Regions from separate parts of the Homo sapiens genome. Here all the other regions are linked to region 1. The links are contacts of gene promoters, found by promoter capture Hi-C in blood cells and fetal thymus (Javierre and others, 2016). All regions are on one chromosome and are shown on one strand. Each heading gives the region's core, a stretch centred on a gene start or on the middle of the fragment in contact. The rest is flanking DNA. Distances are from core to core; before and after follow the strand shown.

What was found. The method cuts DNA at HindIII sites, captures the fragments that hold promoters and counts their contacts. A CHiCAGO score of 5 or more calls a contact.
Region 2: a contact is called between a fragment that was not itself captured here and the fragment with the promoter of KCNQ5-AS1 in region 1, in 16 of 17 cell types (naive CD8 T cells, naive CD4 T cells, total B cells and 13 more). The highest score is 16.4, in naive CD8 T cells.
Region 3: a contact is called between a fragment that was not itself captured here and the fragment with the promoter of KCNQ5-AS1 in region 1, in 14 of 17 cell types (activated CD4 T cells, naive CD4 T cells, naive CD8 T cells and 11 more). The highest score is 12.5, in activated CD4 T cells.
Region 4: a fragment that was not itself captured here is called in contact with the fragment with the promoter of KCNQ5-AS1 in region 1 in 12 of 17 cell types (naive CD8 T cells, activated CD4 T cells, fetal thymus and 9 more); the score reaches 11.7 in naive CD8 T cells.
Region 5: a contact is called between a fragment that was not itself captured here and the fragment with the promoter of KCNQ5-AS1 in region 1, in 11 of 17 cell types (naive CD8 T cells, fetal thymus, non-activated CD4 T cells and 8 more). The highest score is 11.5, in naive CD8 T cells.
Region 6: a fragment that was not itself captured here is called in contact with the fragment with the promoter of KCNQ5-AS1 in region 1 in 14 of 17 cell types (fetal thymus, naive CD8 T cells, activated CD4 T cells and 11 more); the score reaches 11.3 in fetal thymus.
Region 7: a contact is called between a fragment that was not itself captured here and the fragment with the promoter of KCNQ5-AS1 in region 1, in 2 of 17 cell types (total B cells and total CD8 T cells). The highest score is 7.2, in total B cells.

What each region holds. Positions count from the first base shown.
Region 1 is chr6:73,142,181-73,144,900 of GRCh38, forward strand. KCNQ5-AS1 (KCNQ5 antisense RNA 1) reads right to left here and starts at 1,334. Exons shown (of 5, transcript NR_046621.1): 1 at 1,246-1,334. All of the region lies in intron 10 of KCNQ5 (potassium voltage-gated channel subfamily Q member 5), which reads left to right. The HindIII fragment of the contact is 1,820 bases long and covers 1,047-2,720 here.
Region 2 is chr6:72,438,788-72,441,507 of GRCh38, forward strand. No RefSeq gene overlaps it. Among named protein-coding and RNA genes, the nearest start is that of KCNQ5, 180 kb to the right of the region's middle. The HindIII fragment of the contact is 710 bases long and covers 999-1,708 here.
Region 3 is chr6:72,459,038-72,461,757 of GRCh38, forward strand. No RefSeq gene overlaps it. Among named protein-coding and RNA genes, the nearest start is that of KCNQ5, 160 kb to the right of the region's middle. The HindIII fragment of the contact is 679 bases long and covers 1,040-1,718 here.
Region 4 is chr6:72,484,887-72,487,606 of GRCh38, forward strand. No RefSeq gene overlaps it. Among named protein-coding and RNA genes, the nearest start is that of KCNQ5, 140 kb to the right of the region's middle. The HindIII fragment of the contact is 2,087 bases long and covers 305-2,391 here.
Region 5 is chr6:72,500,866-72,503,585 of GRCh38, forward strand. No RefSeq gene overlaps it. Among named protein-coding and RNA genes, the nearest start is that of KCNQ5, 120 kb to the right of the region's middle. The HindIII fragment of the contact is 5,950 bases long and covers 1-2,720 here.
Region 6 is chr6:72,526,166-72,528,885 of GRCh38, forward strand. No RefSeq gene overlaps it. Among named protein-coding and RNA genes, the nearest start is that of KCNQ5, 95 kb to the right of the region's middle. The HindIII fragment of the contact is 4,994 bases long and covers 1-2,720 here.
Region 7 is chr6:72,544,181-72,546,900 of GRCh38, forward strand. No RefSeq gene overlaps it. Among named protein-coding and RNA genes, the nearest start is that of KCNQ5, 77 kb to the right of the region's middle. The HindIII fragment of the contact is 511 bases long and covers 1,058-1,568 here.

The DNA.
Region 1 (2,720 bases), core at 84-2,583:
TATGCCATCGCTTCTTTCATGTGTAAGTGGTCACAAAGACCAACCCTGTACAGTGTAGGCAGGGACTATACAGGGGGGTAATACCAGGAGATGAGGGCCACTGGGGACCATGTTAGAGTCAGGCTACCACAAATGCCTTCAGATAGATTATGTCTTTTAAATTGCAGATTTCAACCAGTCCCTATTGTCTTTCCAGGAACCCAAACCACCAATTCCCCATTCCTTTCGACCTCTCCGTTACCTACCTGCCTTTAACGACATGGGTTTATAACTTCTGGTCTAACCATTTTATGTCCAGTATCCTTTGTATTATATCTCAAAAAAAAAAAAAAATCCTGGCCTCAACCTATAGCTACGCAATTATATTCCACTCTTAGTGCAGACTCTCAAAAGGAATATTAACAAAATATTGAGTATGTGATTACTGCAGCAACAAGTTAAATAAAATGAGGAGGCCAGGTGCGATGGTTCATGCCTGTAATCCCAGCACTTTGGGAGGCTGAGGGGGATGGATCACCTGAGGTCAGGAGTTCGAGACCAGCCTGGTCAACATGGTGAAACCCTGTCTCTACTAAAAATACAAAAATTAGCCAGGCGTGGTGGCGGGCACCTGTAATCCCAGCTACTCAGGAGGCTGAGGCAGGAGAATCACTTGAATCCAGGAAGAGGAGGTTGCAGTGAGCTGAGATTGCACCCTTGCACTCCAGCCTGGGCGACAAGAGCAAGACTCCATCTCGAAAATAAATAAATAAATAAATTGAGGGAGCAGGACATGAACTAGTCAGTTGCAAAACCAAAGTGTCATAACTTCTAACGCAGCTCTCTTTCTTGTACAATGTATGGCCCCTCTTCAGCTTTTCAAGAGGTTGAAGATATGTTCTTGGTTGCTTCAAAGGGCAGAAGCAGAACTAAAAGGTGTGTGATACCAATATTTAGTTCAATATAATGGCAGCTTAGCACTTAGAGACTCCACAGCAATTGAGTGGATTCCATAATTGGAAGCATTCAAATCAAAGTTGGATGATCAACAGTCAGGAATTTCTGGAAGCTTAAGGAGATCAAACCAGAAAACCTCTAAGAAATTTTCTTCCAAATCTGAGTTTTTATAATCTGCTCTTCTGGACCAATGCAAAGTATCTTCCTTAGCCATTAACTCGTATCCTCACTAGCAATTCTATACTAAGAAATAGAAGAGGAAAGCAAGGATTGGCTGAGGAATGCCAGGAGTGAGTTTTCTGTCCTTACCCTAGTTTCACGTCTCTTTGATACCGAGAAAAGTGCTACCCGCTGCTTCTTGCCTCTCATTCCTCCCACTGTTTCTTTTCCACTTTCACTGTCAGCCATAGTCCTTTCTGTCCTAAGAAGTGTATCAGGTGTGTCCCACCCACCATTGTGAGGTTTATGTGTGTGCTCCATAGCGGCTCATTCTTAGAACTTGAATAAGCCCTCCACTGGATTTCAATTCATATCAGAAGGTATTTGAGGGCTGCTACTCAGAGCTAGCATGTTTCTGGGCATTTAGAAGGCAGGGAGGAGGCGTGACAACTGTCACCCCAAAGAACTTACTGTTTGTCTGTAAGTTTTACCACCCCAGCCCACCTCAGTTACAGTATTGATTGGCACTGAGGGGAACAAAAGGCACCTTCCTCATTCTTCAGACTTCATAGTTTTCAGAAATAACCTGTGGGTGACGTCCAAAATTCGCACAAAATAAGCACAAAATTAACCATTACACAAATCACAGAATTTAGCCCATATTTAAGAGAAGCACTTTTCAGCTGCATGGTGATTTTTCCTTCATATATCTCAAATTATTTCCTTCAAAGTCACACTTAGTTGTCTGCTGCATAAACAGAAACCAATATGACACAATTTTAAAATTATATTTAATCGCTTTCATGGTGTGCTCTACTTGGTAAAGAAGGGGGGAAACAAGGTTAAGTAAAGGCCAGGATCCTTTTTCTGCAATGGATGACTGACATGGGAAAGAGATGAGTTACCCAGGCTTTGCTTTTTGCTACCTGCAGTATAAAACTCCCTGACATTGTCCCAAATTGCTTTTACAGGTATTTTATTTTCAACATCTAATTTGTTCGGCTTTTCTTCCCTTGCCATCTTTTTCTTCTTTTGCCATGTATAATGCATAACAACAATTTCTGAACTCCAAAAGCATAGAAACCTCAGAATAACATTACCTGGGAAAAATTAATCTCTCTACCTCCAGCTACCAAGAGAATCATTTGCACATGAAACCCTGAGATTTGCGTCTTTCATTAATCTAATGCAGTAGCAATTGTTATACCACATCGTTCTATTGGAATTGATGACTAATCATTCCCAAAACTCTTTTGAAACTATTGTTCCCATAATTTTGTGTTTTGATTGAAAAATGTCATGACCCTATATCTCTTCATGTTATCTGTTGCATAGCTAACCCTCTCCCTCAGATTTAGTGGCTTAAAACAGCAACCATTTGTTTAGCCCACAATTCTGTTAGGCAGTTCTTCTGGTCTTAAGTGAACTGACTCATGCTCTGTGTTCAGCTGCTGTGTTGGCTGGTGCTGACTGGACTAAGGTGGTCTCAGTTAGAATTACTGCTCTTTGCTCATGTGGTCTCTCATCCTCCAGCAGGCTGGGCTGGTTCACATGGTGGTGGTGGGTTCCCAAGAGCAGTACATTGATATCTGAAGGCCTCTTGAAGTTCAGGCTCAACCTATCAC
Region 2 (2,720 bases), core at 104-2,603, 700 kb before region 1:
TGTTTTGGTACAGTAAGTTCCACTCCTTAATTGTATTTAATTAATCGTGAGTCTCTCCTGCTGTCCTGTTGGCATTTTCAATACTAATAGATAGTTTAAAAGTTTACAGAAAACAAATATATATTCTGAAAAAATGCATGGATTTTAAATTTTTTGCACCAAAATATACTTGTACTAACTTTTTATAACATGCCTCAACAGCATCTAATTTGAGCCACTAAGAAGGATAAGATATGAGTTTCAAGAGAGCCCCAATCAGAGCAACATGAACTCTGCTAAAATTAAAGCAAGAATGAACATCAATTTATGGTAAAACTTGCGTGGAAGAATGATGAAATAAATAATGCTTTATGAAAGTTTATGGGGAAAATGTCCCAAATAAATCAGCAGTTTACAAGTGAATAACTCATTTCAAGAGGGAATGAGATATTGTTGAAGATGAAGCTCACAGTGCCATACCATCCACACATACTTGCAAGGAAACACTCATCTTGTTTGTGTCCCAATTGAAAAGGACCAGCAATTAACAGCAGAAACAGTAGCCCAACACCATAGGCATCTTAACTTATTCAGCTTACACAGCTGTGAACTAAAAATTAAAGCAGAGCAAACTTTCCACTTGGTAAGTGCCAAAAATGTTGTGCCCACTTGAGCTACAGACAAGATCAGAGTTTTCAATTGAAATTTTAAACAAGTAGGATCAAGATCCTGAAGCATTTCTTTGAAGAATTGTAACAGGAGATAGACAAGGCTTTACTAGTATGATCCCAAAGACAAGCACAATCAAAGCAATGGCTACCAAGAGGTGGAAGAGGTCCAGTCAAAGCAAAAGTGGATTAATCAAGAACAAAGATCACGGCAGTTTTGGGGATGCTCAAGGCATTTTGTGTGTTGACTTTCCAGGAGCAGGGGGTGGGACGCAAAAACAATAACATCTGCTTATTATGAGTGTGTTTGAAGGAAGTTAGCCAAAGTTTTAGAAGAAAAACACCTGGGAAAGCTTCACCAGAGAGTCTGCCTCCTCCATGACAATGCTCTTGCTCATTCCTTTCATCAAACAAGGGCAATTTTGTGAAAGTTTTGATGGAAAATCGTTAGGCTTTCACCTTACAGTCTTGATTTAAATTCTGCTAACTTCTTTTGTTTCCTAATATTTAACTAATCTTTAAAGGGCACCATTTTTCTTCAGTTACTAATGTAAAAAAAGATGGCATTGACATGGCTACATTCCCAACTCTCATTTCTTTAAGGATGGACTAAATGACTGGTATCATAGCTTTCAGAAGTGTCCCGAACTTGATGGGGCTTATGTTGAAAAATAAAGTTGGCAATTTTTGTCTTTTAATTCCATTTTTCCATGTATTTTTTGAAGTCCCCCCGTATTTGGGTTGGTCCTTGTAAGAAGTAGTGAGCCATTTTCTCTCATCTTCCTCACTGCTGAACATCTCAGGTCACACGTGATTTTGTCAAGTGCCTTTCTTCCATGGCCCTGAGGTTTGCAGTGAGTAACTCCCCAGTAAGTGACGTTTGTATTCTCCCATCCTTAACCCCTAACTCACCTCTGTGCTTGCCCATTTTCCCCATCACACAACCCCTGCCTAAAAGAAATCTGTGAATTTTCCCCATGAGGAAACTAATGAAGTCCTAACCCCAAATGAAGAGTGGGTTCCTTCCTTCCTCCAAACAAGTTATATAAAATGCTTCTCTAAGCTTCACCAGTAGGCTATACTTCTGGTTTTTTTGTCTGTTTGTTTTTTGCTTTTTTTTTCAGAAGATATATTATTCTGCTAAGAATCCTAGTGGAATCATCAAAGGTCACTACTACTAAGAAGAGCATTTTGACAAAAGACCCTTCCTCAAGGACCTCTGTGCTTTCTGACAGAGTGAAAATTTAAAAAAAAAAAATCTCTGAAAAGGAGAAAATCAAATGAAAGTCATTCCAAAAGAGCACCATATGGCCCACAAGATGTGTGGGTATGGAAGACTCATGCAATGAGGGAAACACACAGATTCTGGAAATCAAAAATGAGCCCCCCCACCCCCCACAAAGTAGGTCATCCCTCATAGCCAAATTCTGAGACCAAATTTCTCATCGCATACTTCTAATTTAGTTTACCTCTGTTGGCATAAGTATGTTCATTTAAAAGTGAATTTCATTCTCACCTCAGCATGGCTCATATTTGTGGTATAGCTAAATGGCTTCATCTTGAGGGTGATGTTGTGCAGCATATGTTACTAAAGTATAGCATCATCTTCTGATTTGAAAAAAAAGAAATGTACATTTGAACTCACTTTGGAAGCATATGTATACAAAATTGTTCTCCTTTACAATAGCTAGCATTGTCATAAAAATTGAAAGTAGGTTCAGAATTAGTAAAGAACTCTCATGGCTTCCTTCAGGACAGGGTTTCTCAACCTTGGTACTATTGACATTTGGGGCTAGATAATTTTTAATAGATTTCACTTTTTAGAGAAGTATAAAATTCGAGCAGAAGGTACAGAGGAGTCTCTTCTACCACTGTACCCAATAATTCCAATAATTTTTTTGTAGGGAGATGTCTTGTGCATTTTAAGATGTTCAGCAGCATCCCTGGCCTCTTCCACTAGATGCCAATAGCATCTTGCTGTTGTGAGGACCAAAAGTATCACCAGACATTGTCAAATGTCTCCTGGTTAAAATCACCAGGCAAAATCACCACTAGTTAAACATTATTCTTTCA
Region 3 (2,720 bases), core at 129-2,628, 680 kb before region 1:
ATATAATACTATCAAAGCAAAAAAACTAAGTTACCTTAATAATTGGAACTCTCCCTCATTCTTCCTATGCTATGTGTACTTCTAGAGTCTTTAAAGCAGTTGTTGGCGACGTGGAAAAGAAGGAGTCAATTGTGTCTGCACATAATTTTTTCAACTTGGTCAACTGAGCCTCTCACTTGAGAGGGTCACAGCTATATGGTTATGTCCATTTTTTTTCCCCATGAACCAAGAGACAGCATATTTTTAGAATTTCAAATGTCAATAAAAAGCATCAAAGGGTAATATATAAGATCATCTTTTTTTTAACTTTGGAATTCATTTATAGTTTAACACTATTGCAAATAGAGCCAGTTTCACTTTTCACCTTACAGCCTAAGAATCTTTCACAGGAAAGATTATTTCATTTTGTATTAATAACGTACCTATTATACAGTGGCATCAAAACAATGGGAGTGCTGCGTTAACGAAAAGAAAATGGGACTCCCGCCCTCAAGACTGAATTTTCAGTGAATTTACTATATAACTAAAAATGCCTAAGACCAATTCACACAACACTCATCGATACCCAGGCAGCACAAAAGGTAGTGATATAACAAGTCTTTTGAATCTTGTTTTATGTTGCCCAAGTTTAGGTTGGACTCCCTGAAATCTGTGGTTCGGTTTTATATTAAATTTTGTATTAGTTTAAATGAAAGGGCTTGAACAATATCCAGTGAAGCTGGTGATAATAATTGAGATAATAATATTCTTATTCCTTCACTTTACAGCTGTGTGACTTTGAACGAGGGACTTAACCCCTGTAGCTCTGTTTCTTCTTCTGTGAGTTTGGAAAAATCATACCAACATTGCAAGGTTGCTGTTGAGAGTTACATGTCAGTATTCTTGTATGTGATGGTACAATATGCTTGGCACACTGTGTGCATACAATGCTTGAAGACTTTATATTTCCATGATTATCAGATTAGTATTAGCTTCTGGAGGAAGCCAAACCTGTAACACAAGGGAGGGACCCACTGATAATAGGAGACAAATGGATTGAAGCTTTTAAACATAGCCAAGTCTCTCCTTATGGCTGCTTCCCAAAAGCAACAGCTTCCATTTAAATCTTTGAAAATACAACAAGATGAAGTGCTTTTCAGATGACAGGGTCCACTCCAAGACACAAGTGGCTTTTACATGGAAAATAACTGGATAATCAAAACAATATCTAAAGCCTCCTGTCAGACATTATCCTTTTCTGCTATGATTCATTTTACTTCAGGTACAAACATCTCGGTGTCATTGTATGGTCTGGTTCCTTTTAGATGTCCTTTCAGATGGAAAGCAAAATGTATTTTTCAGGCTTTCTCAGACAGGAAAAGCAAAATGTAACTAATATATTTATGATTCTGTTTTGTTCAACTCAGTAAGTGTATTTTTTAAGCATTGTTCCAGAAAAGTAAAAATATGGCTCTCTTTACCAGAAGAGTTTGAGAAGGGAGAACTTTCTGAATGCCATCAAATAATTCACTGTGTTACTTAGTATCAGCCATTTATGTTTTCTACCATAGAAAAATTGACAGTAATAGTTTCTTCCTTAGGAAAAAGACATAGAAAATACAAAGTTAATATAATAATAATAGCCGATATTTGTTTATCACCACCTAGGAGTTATATGCTAATCTAAGCACTTCATATGTAATTAATAACATTTAATCCTCCTAATAACCCTATATGGAAGCTTCTAGAATTACCTCATTTTCAGATAAGGAAATGGAGGAACAGAGAGGTTAAATAGCTTGCCTAAAGTCATGGGACTAGTAAGTGGTAGATTCAAACCCAAGCAGTCTATCTCAAATCCTTACAAATATACATTGCTGCATTTCCAGTGAAATGACATATATAGATTCTTATCCCCCATAACAGACATTTAATGAATCAACCAAGATGCAAAAAATTTAATGTAGGAATTATCCTACCAAAGGTTTTTCTTGTTTATTTTTTTAAGTAAGGTGTGTTCCTCATGTCTAAGGTAAATATAGGTATATGGTTGCCTTTCTTTTCTGACAAGAAAGCCTGGTTCTTGGTACTCATCATGATGTAAAGAGGGTATACTCCTTGTAACTGTGCTGCAGTAGCTCCAGTGTAGTTCATCCTTTGAGTTCTAAGGCTATATTTCATATGCCTTCTCATGAGATTTTTCTAGAAGTCTTAGTTCAAAATGAATTGCCTACACGTCAGCATTCCCCAGCCACATTGAGTAACCACAAAGCCAGTTCCAGCTGTGCATCCTAACATTCTTGCAGCAGCCTCACTCTCCCCTCCACAACACACATCTTGCTTTGAGGTTGTTTTCCTCAGCTAAGCACAAAGTGCAAACATTTGCAACAAGCCTGCCAAGGCAGAAAAGAACTGAAATTGATGCTACCTCACTTAGTTTCTCTTTCTGATCCATATCATATTCTGCTGTCAGAGTAATCTCTCTTGAGTACCAGGCAGTTTTATTGATTTCCATTTTTCTACCATAGAAAATGAACGCATCACCTTCCTTCCAGGCCTCCTTTATCTGGTTTTTCCTTGACATTAAACCTTGCCTTCACTTCTCTAGCCAGGCTGGACTACTCCCTAACACAGTTTTAAGTCCCCTTTTCACATGTTTTGCCTTACTTGCTTAATTTTTCAATAAATATTTCTAAAGCACCTACTACGTACCAGGTATAAAGCATGGCACTTGTCAAGAA
Region 4 (2,720 bases), core at 98-2,597, 660 kb before region 1:
ACAAATACCAGTTTCAGAATTGATTACAAATTGATTTTTGTTTTCATAATTTTTTTGCTCATAGTAATAGCAGATACCATTTATCCAGTACTTACTGAGAGCCAAGCATTGTATAAATTATCATATTATATATGATCTAATTGAATTCTTATATAATCCTTATGTAATAAGAATTATTATTATCTTCATTTTAAGACTTGGAGGTTAAGTAACTTAATTTGCCCAAGGTGCATAATTAGTAAGCGGAAAAGCTAGAATCTGAACTCAGGTCTCTCTGACTCAACCACTCAAGCTTAACCACTCAAGCTTAACCACTCCACTACAATGCCAGGCACTAGATTAAAAGGAGAGCTGAGTTTGATGCTGGACTTCCACTACTCGCTGAAGTTACTTTTATAGCTGATTTAATTTCTCTTAGCCTCAATTTTCTCCTCTGTAAAATTAGGAGGTGGAACTAGAGCACTTTACAAATTTCTTTCTTTTTAAAATATACTATGAGTTTTCATGGCCTGAGGTAATTCTCAAACGTGCAAGAATCAAACTCTCAGACTTCTTCCACCCTGACTTTATTTTTCATTAAAAAAAGAAAGACATGGCTAGAAATCTCTGAACTTGAGCCTCATGTTGAGTTTTGATTTGGGAAGTATCATTGGTTTCACACAGCTTGTGAGATAAACGTTGATGGGTTCCAGCCTCACTCCGTACAAGTTGACCCCCTGTGCACATTTAGGAATTAGTATGAGACAGTATAATGGTTTCTGGGAAAGGGAACTTTTAAAATGTCTAAAAAGCAGACTCAAAACAGCAGAACCTATGTTAAACCCACAAAATCCTTCCCCATGTATAAAAATTTGGATAGGAAGTAGAAGAGTCCCTATCTATTTTCAAAGTTATTGGTTGGTGGAGGTATCACAAACTGTACTATTGTGTGGCCTCTTACAATTTCTTTTTGAAAATTATGAATTATATGCACAGGAGTATTGTACGTATATGAACAATGTGTACACATCATTCATCTTAAGGTGTAGAATATTAGCAGCATCTTTGAATTCCCTGGTGTGCCTTTCTCAGATCACATCCCCCTACCATCCTCCTGGGTTGACCTCTAATATGACTTTTGTATTAATTATTCTGTCACTTTTCTGTATAGTTTTGCCATTCATATATATACCAACAATGTAGTGTTTAGTTTTGCCTGTCTTCAAGCTGTATATAAATGGAATAATCATACTATATGAATTCTTCTATGATTTCCTGTTTTTTTGTTTTGTTTTGTTTTGTTTTGTTTTGTTTAGACGGCGTCTTGCTCTGTCGCCCAGGCTGGAGTGCAGGGTTGCGATCTCGGCTCACTCACTGCAAGCTCCGACTCCCGGGTTCACGCCATTCTCCTGCCTCAGCCTCCTGAGTAGCTGGAGTGCATGGTTGCGATCTCGGCTCACTCACTGCAAGCTCCGACTCCCGGGTTCACGCCATTCTCCTGCCTCAGCCTCCTGAGTAGCTGGGACTACAGGCGCCCGCCATCACGCCTGGCTAATTTTTTGTATTTTTAGTAGAGACGGAGTTTCACCGTGTTAGCCAGGATGGTCTCGAACTCCTGACCTCGTGATCCGCCCGCCTCGGCCTCCCAAAGTGCTGGGATTACAGGCGTGAGCCAGATTTCCTGTTTTTATTCTCTGCTATTCCTTTAAGATTTATCCATGTAGAGTGTGTAACTGTTTGTATTGTGTCACTGATGAATAGTATGCCATGGTATCAATATACCATAATTTATTTATCCATTCTAATGTTAATGCACTTGCAGATTATTTCTGGTTTTTTTGGTGTGTGTGTTACAAATTATGAACGTTCATTTGCCTCTTCCTGGTTACATACATGCAATAATTTCTCTAGCATTTATACGTAGGAGAGGGATTGCTGGATCTTAGTTAACATAGGCACTTGTCAATTCTAGTAAGCCAGATTGGTTTATCAATAGATTTTCAAAATTGTAACTTATCTATTAAAAATAGAGCATGAAAGAAGGCATAATCCTATTGCATTGTGAAACCTGGATTCCTGACTATAAATTAAGCATAATAAAGAATGCTGTGCTCACTTTGTACCAAATGACTTGGTATCAAGATATCAGTAAAGCCCACTGGAAGAACAGAGCATTAGGCTGTGTTGTACGACTGAATTAAGGAGAAATGGTTAGTTCATAAGAACTATAGGAAAATCAGCATAGGGATAGATACATAAAGAAAGCAGAAGGTAGAAACAGGAGGTCACTCTGTTCCTAGAAAAATAATTAGATGAGAAGTTCTTATTTTTTCTGTTAATAACTAGATATTTATGTTATTTCAGCCCCTAGAAGATGACCAGCACCTTGTGAACTCTGTATCAATGAATACAAGCTTACAAATCAGGAACACCAAAGAATCTGTATTGACTTTGCCTCACCTATCCTTCTCCCCATGCCTCAACCTTACTTCTCCCCATTTCACCCCAGCATTTCTATCTGTTCCAATTCAGCCATTATGAACTCCAAGAATAACTCCCTACTCATGCTTTTGATGAAATGGCATGGGAGTCACGGTGCAGAAGGAAAAACATCTCAATTTTTTACAGTAATTGACATTCTGAGGAATATATTCTTAGCAATATAAAAGACAATACAGAGTTCTCATTTGTTTTAAGAGTTTATACTTTTTTATGTTATAAAATCTCTTGGGAGTCATTAC
Region 5 (2,720 bases), core at 140-2,639, 640 kb before region 1:
TCACAGTGGGGGCAGGGGACAATCTGCGTTACTCAGTCTGTAGATACAAATGTTACTGTCATCCAGAAACAGCCTCATGGACATGCCCAGAATAATGTCTGACCAAATATCTGGGTACCTCCTGTCCTAGTCAAGTTGACACCAAAAACGAACTATCACAGTGTGTGCTTGTGTGTCTATGTTTAAAATACCTAGCACCCAGATCTTGGTTACTAAATGCTATTCTCTCTTGAAAAAAATTAGGGCTTCTTGTTGAAATAGCTGAATCCAAGGCTGGGCAGGGAAAGTACAAGATGAGTCTGGAACATTTTGTTATGCCATAAAGAGTGCTGAAAGAATAATGAGGACATGTCTAACAGCATAGGAAGCAGCTTAAAGAAGCTCCCACTGGCCAAATCCAGGACAACTTGAACATCAAAATAAATTATAACAACAACATCAATAAATTACAACATCAAATAAAATAAGAATCCATCAGCCCATACTCATGGGCTAAGTATAAGTTTGTTAATTAATATGTTAATTAATTATAAGTTAATATGTTAGCTGCTAATTAATATAAGTTAGTATATTATATGTTAATATAAGCTAATTAATTGAAAGTTCGATGAGAGATGGGACATTTACATAATCTCAGAATACATCCCCATTATTCTTTCATTCCAAAGGGAAAAGTAATAGCTTTCCAGTGGAGAATCCTGGCAGGCACTACTTTAAACAAGTAATCAACATTAATATTACCAGTAATAGGACAATTCAAATCAGGTACTGGGTGATAAATGCAATGAGGAAAATGCAATATAACTTTTACGGTACTCCTGTAAGAAATAAAATGCATATATGGAATTTAATTATGAGGAAACACACAAAAAAACTAAAATTGAGGGACATTCTACAAAATAGCTGACCTTTTTATCTTCAAAAGTGTCGAGATCATGAAGTCAAGGAAAGATTTAGGATCTGTTCCAAATTGAAGGAGAATAAAGAGACATGACAACTAAATGCAACATTTGATTCTGAACTGGATCCTTTTGTTATTTGAATAATTGATAAAATGTAAATGGAGTCTGAAGTTACATGAGAGTCATATATTTATATGAATTTACTGATATTGATGGTTTACAGTAATGTAAGATAAAGTCTTCAGTTATAAGAAATACTCATTAGGCCAGGCGTGGTGGCTCACGCCTGTAATCCCAGCACTTTGGGAGGTTGAGGGTGGCAGATCACTTGAGGTCAGGAATTTGAGACCAGCCTGGCTAACATGGTGAAACCCTATCTCAACTAAACATACAAATTAGCCAGGCATGCTGCATGCCTGTAGTCTCAATTAATCCGGAGGCCTGAGACATGAGAACCGCTTGAACCCAGGAGGCACAGGGTGCAGTGAGCCAAGATAGTGTGTGCTGCTGCACTCCAGCCTGGGCGACAGAGTAAGACTGCACCTCAAAGAAAAAAAAAAAAAAAAAAAGAAAGAAAAGAAAAGAATACTCATTAAAGTATTCTGGGTTGATGCAGTATCACATAATCCTCTTACTCAAACTCAGAGGAAAAAGTTCTTCATTCCCTTTTTGCAACTTTTCTCCACGCTTTAAATTGTTTCATAAATGTATTTATATAAATATTTTATTACATTAGCAATCAGGAATATCCCTGTTTCATTTAGAATACAGCTCTTTCACAATATTTCCTTAACTTTTATGTCTGTTTACTTTAGGGTGAAGTCACAGTAATAATTATAAACTTCATATTATAAATTTCTATTATATTTTTTAATTAAGAAAAAAATCTCAGGTTTGAATTTTTATTATGTAAAAACCTTATCAAGTAGCAGTACTTGAATATACCTAGTCATAGGGAGAACATTCCTGTATTTCCTTCTTGGACAACTCTCTTTTCAGAAACTTTCCCTATATGATAAACACTCCCTTACACTTAGATAAAACTGCTTTAACCATTACTATCACTCATCTCTTTTTTTGGTATTTCACTGTGAGGACACTTATTAGTTCTTTCTTGCTGTTTCCTTAGATATTCTTAGCCTTTGTCTCCTGGAAACTCTTATTTCACTTGACTCTGTGACAAGTTTTTGTTATCTTCCTTTTACCTCTTTAGGAATCGCTTCTTAGTAGTATTCATAAATGCTTTTCCCTCTGATCGTCCCTAAAATATTGATGTTCCTCTGGGTTCTGCTCTCATGTCCCATCTCATCCTCCATTACACAATCTTCCTGAATCACCTTTTCAAAGTCTTGATCATCACCCATGTCCTGATGGTCTCAAATCTCTGTTGGATCCAGATATCACTCCCAAGCACAGACCTGAATGGCCCACTGCCTAAAAACCACATAAATACTTGTATCCCTTGGGTATATCAAAATGAGCAAGTACAAAACCAAACTCATCACCAAATCCCATCCTCTCTCAAGTTCCTTCCACCAGGCTTGGTGCTCTCGCTTATTCCTCCCTCAGTGAAGTGCATCACCATCAATCTAGAGGCAAAGCAGCAAACAAGATCTTTTTAAACTTCCTTATTATTTATCAAATCCATATATATATTAAATATAAATATATATTTCTCTCCCTTTCCCACTGCCTTAGTGGGACCACAGTTCAGACCACAGTTATTTCTTCCCTGAATTATAGCTTCATAGATGGGGCCCTGGACAGAAGTTTTGCTCCTCTGCAATTTTTCTTCATGGTGATTGTATTAGTCAGAGT
Region 6 (2,720 bases), core at 111-2,610, 620 kb before region 1:
TTCTGTGTAAAACCCACATACTAAAAGACCACCCATCATGTATCCCCCTTCAGATCTACATTCTATAAGTTAAACATCCCATTTCTCCAACCATGTGATATGGTTTCTAGACAGCTAGCTATTCCAAACATCTCCCTCTGGACATCCTTTAGGAATCTCAGCTATCATTGAACAGATGCTTCCTGGTAATGTCTAATCAACACAAAATCCAGCAAGACCACTTAGACACTTTCTATAAACCCAGGCTAAACCACAGGAGCTTTCTTGGCAGACACATCTGCTTTTTATTCATTGAACTCACAATCAGCTAAGCCAAATATTCTGTACCCTGGAATTGTACAATTTAACTTCTGAACCAGAACATATAACTTTACATTTAGATCTCTTAAAAGTCTTTATGTAACAGTTATCCCAGCATCGAATGCTCTTTACTGTCATTCTCAATTTCTGTTTCTTTATCCATAATATTAATTATTGTTCCTTAATTTTTAATCTCTGAACTTGACTGACATGTCTTTGACATATTTTTCTAAGCCCACTTATTTATACTATTGAATAGAACAGAATGAAAGACAGGTCTTTTGATATGTCTCTACAAAAATCCACTCAGATTGCCATAAATCCAGTGATATTTCCCATTCTCTTCTGGGCAGGGCCACTCTGGCCCATCTATTCCAGCCTGACTTTCATAAATAACTATCCCTCCCTGCTATTTTCTGTAACTTGGGAAGATATAGAAAAATCTATCAGCAGTTTACCAACTTTTTACAGAAACACCATTTCCCCCATGTATTCAAGGACATACTGACCTACACAATGGTGGATACAATTAAGATAGTTACTATTTATGAGTTGTAGGATGGATACATTTAAGGATTCTTGTTTGTCCCAAGGCCCTTTGCATAGTATATCCTGCACATATATCATCTCAGCTACCCCGTACTCTGTAAAAGAAAAGAAATGCTAGGTGTGTTCAACCCCAAACCAAATTTTGTGTGGCCTGAAAGGGTAAAGTTAGAATTGATAGTCCAAGATTTAGAGAGAATGATGTTGATTCATTATGAGGACTGACTATAAATAACATGGAAGCAGCACCCTGAGTGGAGAAAGCGTTCATACAATGTGTTTATACTTAAAGGCACTGACTTATTCCAGGCAAAGGAGATAAAGTGTAGTCTCAAGACATTTCAACTCTGTATTGTATCTCTGCTAACATCTACCCCATGTGCAAGAACGTGAATGGGTATCCTCATCTCAACCATCATCTTTCTACCATGGTGTTCAACCCAAGTCCTTCAACACCAGGCACTATCTCATGCTCTAGACCTTTCTTTATCCCACACACATCCAAACCAAGAACATACAGCTCATGTTTAACATCCTTTTAAAAGGTAACTATTTTACTAAGCCAACATTGTAATTAATATATCAACACACCAAATAACATTCACATTTTAGCAAAGGCTGTCAATGTCCTAAACCAATGAAGTAGATATTGAATATTTTACATCATGTTAAGCAAATCGCCATATTTCTCCACTGACATGCAAAGCCAGCTGTGAAACCATAACCTCTGTGAAGCTGGAAAAGCTGACCTGTGTGTAGGTGACTTGCCCAAAGTAGAATTGATTACTATCTTTATTTTTATTTTATGTATGAGTGATCAGCCCTGTTTACCTTGCCTAGTTAGAATTAAATACATAATTTTATCTACTTAATAGATTATATATGTATGACCAGCTCTGTTCTCTGCCTGGTTAATGAAGAGCTTTTATCCCAAAGTTTAGTTTTCATATACGCTTAAACATCCTATTGAGAACAAAATGTCATAAAACATTCAAAAGCAATACTCAAAAAGTAATTATCCACAAAAACTATAGTGATAGCATCAATATAACGAAGACATTGTAACAACCAGCCCTGAATGTCAACATTCACTATAGAAGATCTCAGGCACTGCAGCTGAAGCTGCATCCCAGCCTCACATTGAAATGTAATCAACTTTTTAAAACTGTCATAACAACATCTGTTTCCAAATAACAATTTGCTAAATTTTGAATGTTTTCACCCAATTTAATTGAAGTTAAAGTAGTTCATATATATGTAAACATATATGCACATTTTCTGATTGCTCACAAGAAATTTCAGGAAAAACTTTATTAGTCTCCAAAACTTTTATGGCAGTCCTAGCAAGTTTAACAATGAAAGGTCTTGTTTTTGAGGGTTAGCATCAAGTAGTTTGTTAAAGAAAAATTATTATTAAAAATGTATACTATCACAGTGTAATCAGGATTTAGAAGGGACTTTGAGGCCAGGCATGGTGGCTCATGCCTGTAATCCCAACACTTTGGGAGGCCAAGGCGGGCAAATCACTTGAGGTCAGGAGTTCCAAACCAACCTGGCCAACATGGTGAAACCCTATCCCTACTAAAAATACAAAAATTAGCTGGGCATCATGGCCCATGCCTATAATCCCTGATACTTGAGAGGCTGAGGTGGGGAGGATCACTTGAATCCGGGAGGTGGAGGTTGCAGTTAGCCAAGACTGCACGACTGCATTCCAGCCTGGGTCACAGAGTGAGATTCTGCCTCAAAAAAAAAAAAAAAAAAAAAAGAAGGGACTTTGAAAAGTCATCTTAAACTTTTAACTTTATAGGCTTAAGCCAAAGCTAAACTCTGACAGATGTGTAGCCATTCTTTTGTATGAGGATTTGCAGAAA
Region 7 (2,720 bases), core at 63-2,562, 600 kb before region 1:
GTTTGATTTCTACATCTTTGTTCACTTCTAAAATTTTCTTCTGTTAATGATTTCTAATTTTATTCTATGGTAGTCAGAGAATATACTTTGCATGACTTTCATTCTTTTAAATTTAACAAAAGTCATAGCCAAACTTATAATGAATCTTACAGAATGTTCCATGTGCACTTCAGAAAAATGTGTATTCTGCTGTTTTTGAGTGTAGTGTTCTGTATCTGTCTGGTTGGTATTTAATGTTGTCCAAGCCTTCTATTTTCTTGATGGTGTAACAAGGCCCTAACTCTCTTCTATTCTATGAAGGCCAAGAGAGATGAGAAAAACTAGAGAAGAAAAGTTGGAAGCTGGCAGAGACTGGTTCATGAAGTTGAAGAAGCCATCTCCACAACCTAAAATTGCAAAGTGAAACAGTAAGTGCTCATGTAGAAGCTGCAGCAAGTTATCCAGAAGATCCAGCTAAGATAATTAATGAAAGTGGCTACACTAAACAATAGATTTTCAAGGTAGAAAAAATAGTCTTTTGTTGGAAGAAAGTGCCACATAGGATTTCCATAACTGGAGAGGAAAGTCAATGCCTTGTTTCAAAGCTTCAAGGGAAAGGCTGATTCTCTTGTTAGGGGCTCATGCAGTTAGTGACTCTAAATCGCAGCCAATGTTCATTTACCATTCTGAAAATTTTAAGACTTTTTAAAATTATGTTAAATCTATTCTTCTGGCGCTCTATAAATTGAACATAGCCTGGATGATGCCACTTCTGTCTACAGCATGGTTTCCTGTATATTTTAAACCCATTGTTGAGATCTACTTCTCAGAAGAAAAGATTTCTTTCAACATATTACTGGTCATTGACAATGCGCCTGGTTACTCAAGAGCTCTGATAAAGATATACAAGGAGATAAATGTTATTTTAATGGCTTATAACACAATATTCATTCTGCAGCCCATGGATCGAGTAGCAATTTCTACATTTAAGTCTTATTACTTCAGAAATATATTTTGTAAGGCTATAGTTACCATAGGTAGTTATTCCTCTCATGGATCTGGGCAAAATAAATTTCAAAGCTTCTGGAAAGAATTCATCATGATAAATGCTTTAGAATATTAGTAATTCATGAGAGGAGGTCAAAAAACCATCAATAATAGGAGTTTGGAAGAAGTTAACCTAACCCTCATGGATAACTTTGAGGAGTTGAAGACTTCACTAGAGAAAGTAACTACGGATCTGGTGGAAATAGCAAAAGAATTAGAATTAGAAATGGAGCCTAAAGATGTGACTGAATTGCTGCAATCCCCTGATAAAACTTGAACAGATGAGGAGTTGCTTCTCATGGATGAGCAAAGAAAGTAGTTTCTTGAGATGGAATCTACTACTGGTAAAGATACTGTCAGCATTGTTAAATGGCAACACAAGATTTAGAAAAGTATGTAAACTTAGTTGATAAAGCAGTGGCAGGGTTTGAGAGGACTGACTTCAATTTTGAAAGAAGTTCTACTATGGGCAAAATGCTATCAAATAGCATCACACACTACAGATAATATTTTCGTAAAAGAAAGAGTCAATTGACGAGGCAAGCTTCATTGTCTTATTTTAAGAAATTGCCATAGCCACCCCAACCTTCAGCAGCCACCCTTGATCAGTCAGTAGCCATCATCATTGAGGCAAAACCCTCCACCAGCAAAAAGATTATGACTCGTTGAAGGCTCAAGCAATCATTAACATTTTTTAGCAATAAAGTATTTTTAAATTATAATATGTACATTTTTAACATAATGCTATTGCATACCAAATACACTACAGTATAGTGTAAACATAATTGTATATGTGCTAGGAAACCCAAACATTTGTATGACTTACTTTATAGAGATATTTGCTTTGTTAAGGTGGTCTGGAATCAAATCCACAACATCTCCAAAGTATGCCTGTAGTTCTAACAAAGCTGAAAATATTTACATTTGGCCCTTTATGTTTTTAGCCTTTGGAACTAAGGTGTTGATACTGAATTTTAAGAGAAAATAAAGAACAGAGCCCCTAATCCATGCAAGAATGTGTACAAATTATGTTTACATTGCATTTTAAATACATAGAAAGGGAAGAATAAATTATTAAAGAACACTTATTTGATCAATAAAATTTCTTAATATAAAAGAGAAAGCCTTAAGGGAAATATTGGCAAATCTACTGTCCAATTGGCTTTTTCCACAACTCAACCTTTGTGTATGGGTGTGAGATTTTTAATATAATTTGCATATCACTGTATTATTAAACTTTCCATCAATTTTGTACGGAAAATTATAACTTGATATTAGGCAATGGCATGGCTCTAAACTTACGCAGTATCAGAGAAGATGTATTCCAAATTTATAGGATAGTCTTAATCTAAAGTGAAGAGAATGTATATGTATTAAATAATAGTATTTTGCAGTTTCACAGATATTATTTTAAAAGCATAGCCACTTGAAAGCAGAATAGACATTGACCAGTGGACTCAATCTTAAGCCCACCTAGAGAGACAAGAAAACTGGTTAGGATCTTACCGACCTCAGGTAAACAGAGAATTTCATGCTTATTTGTCACTAACACAATGTACTGCAGGCAGTACGCATAGTTTTGCTTATCAAAAAGAAAATATCAATATTAGAGTGGTACTGATGCAAAAGTACTTCTTTGCACCTAAGAAACTGAGAAAATTAGCACTATAAAAATCATTTTAGCTGCAACTCTC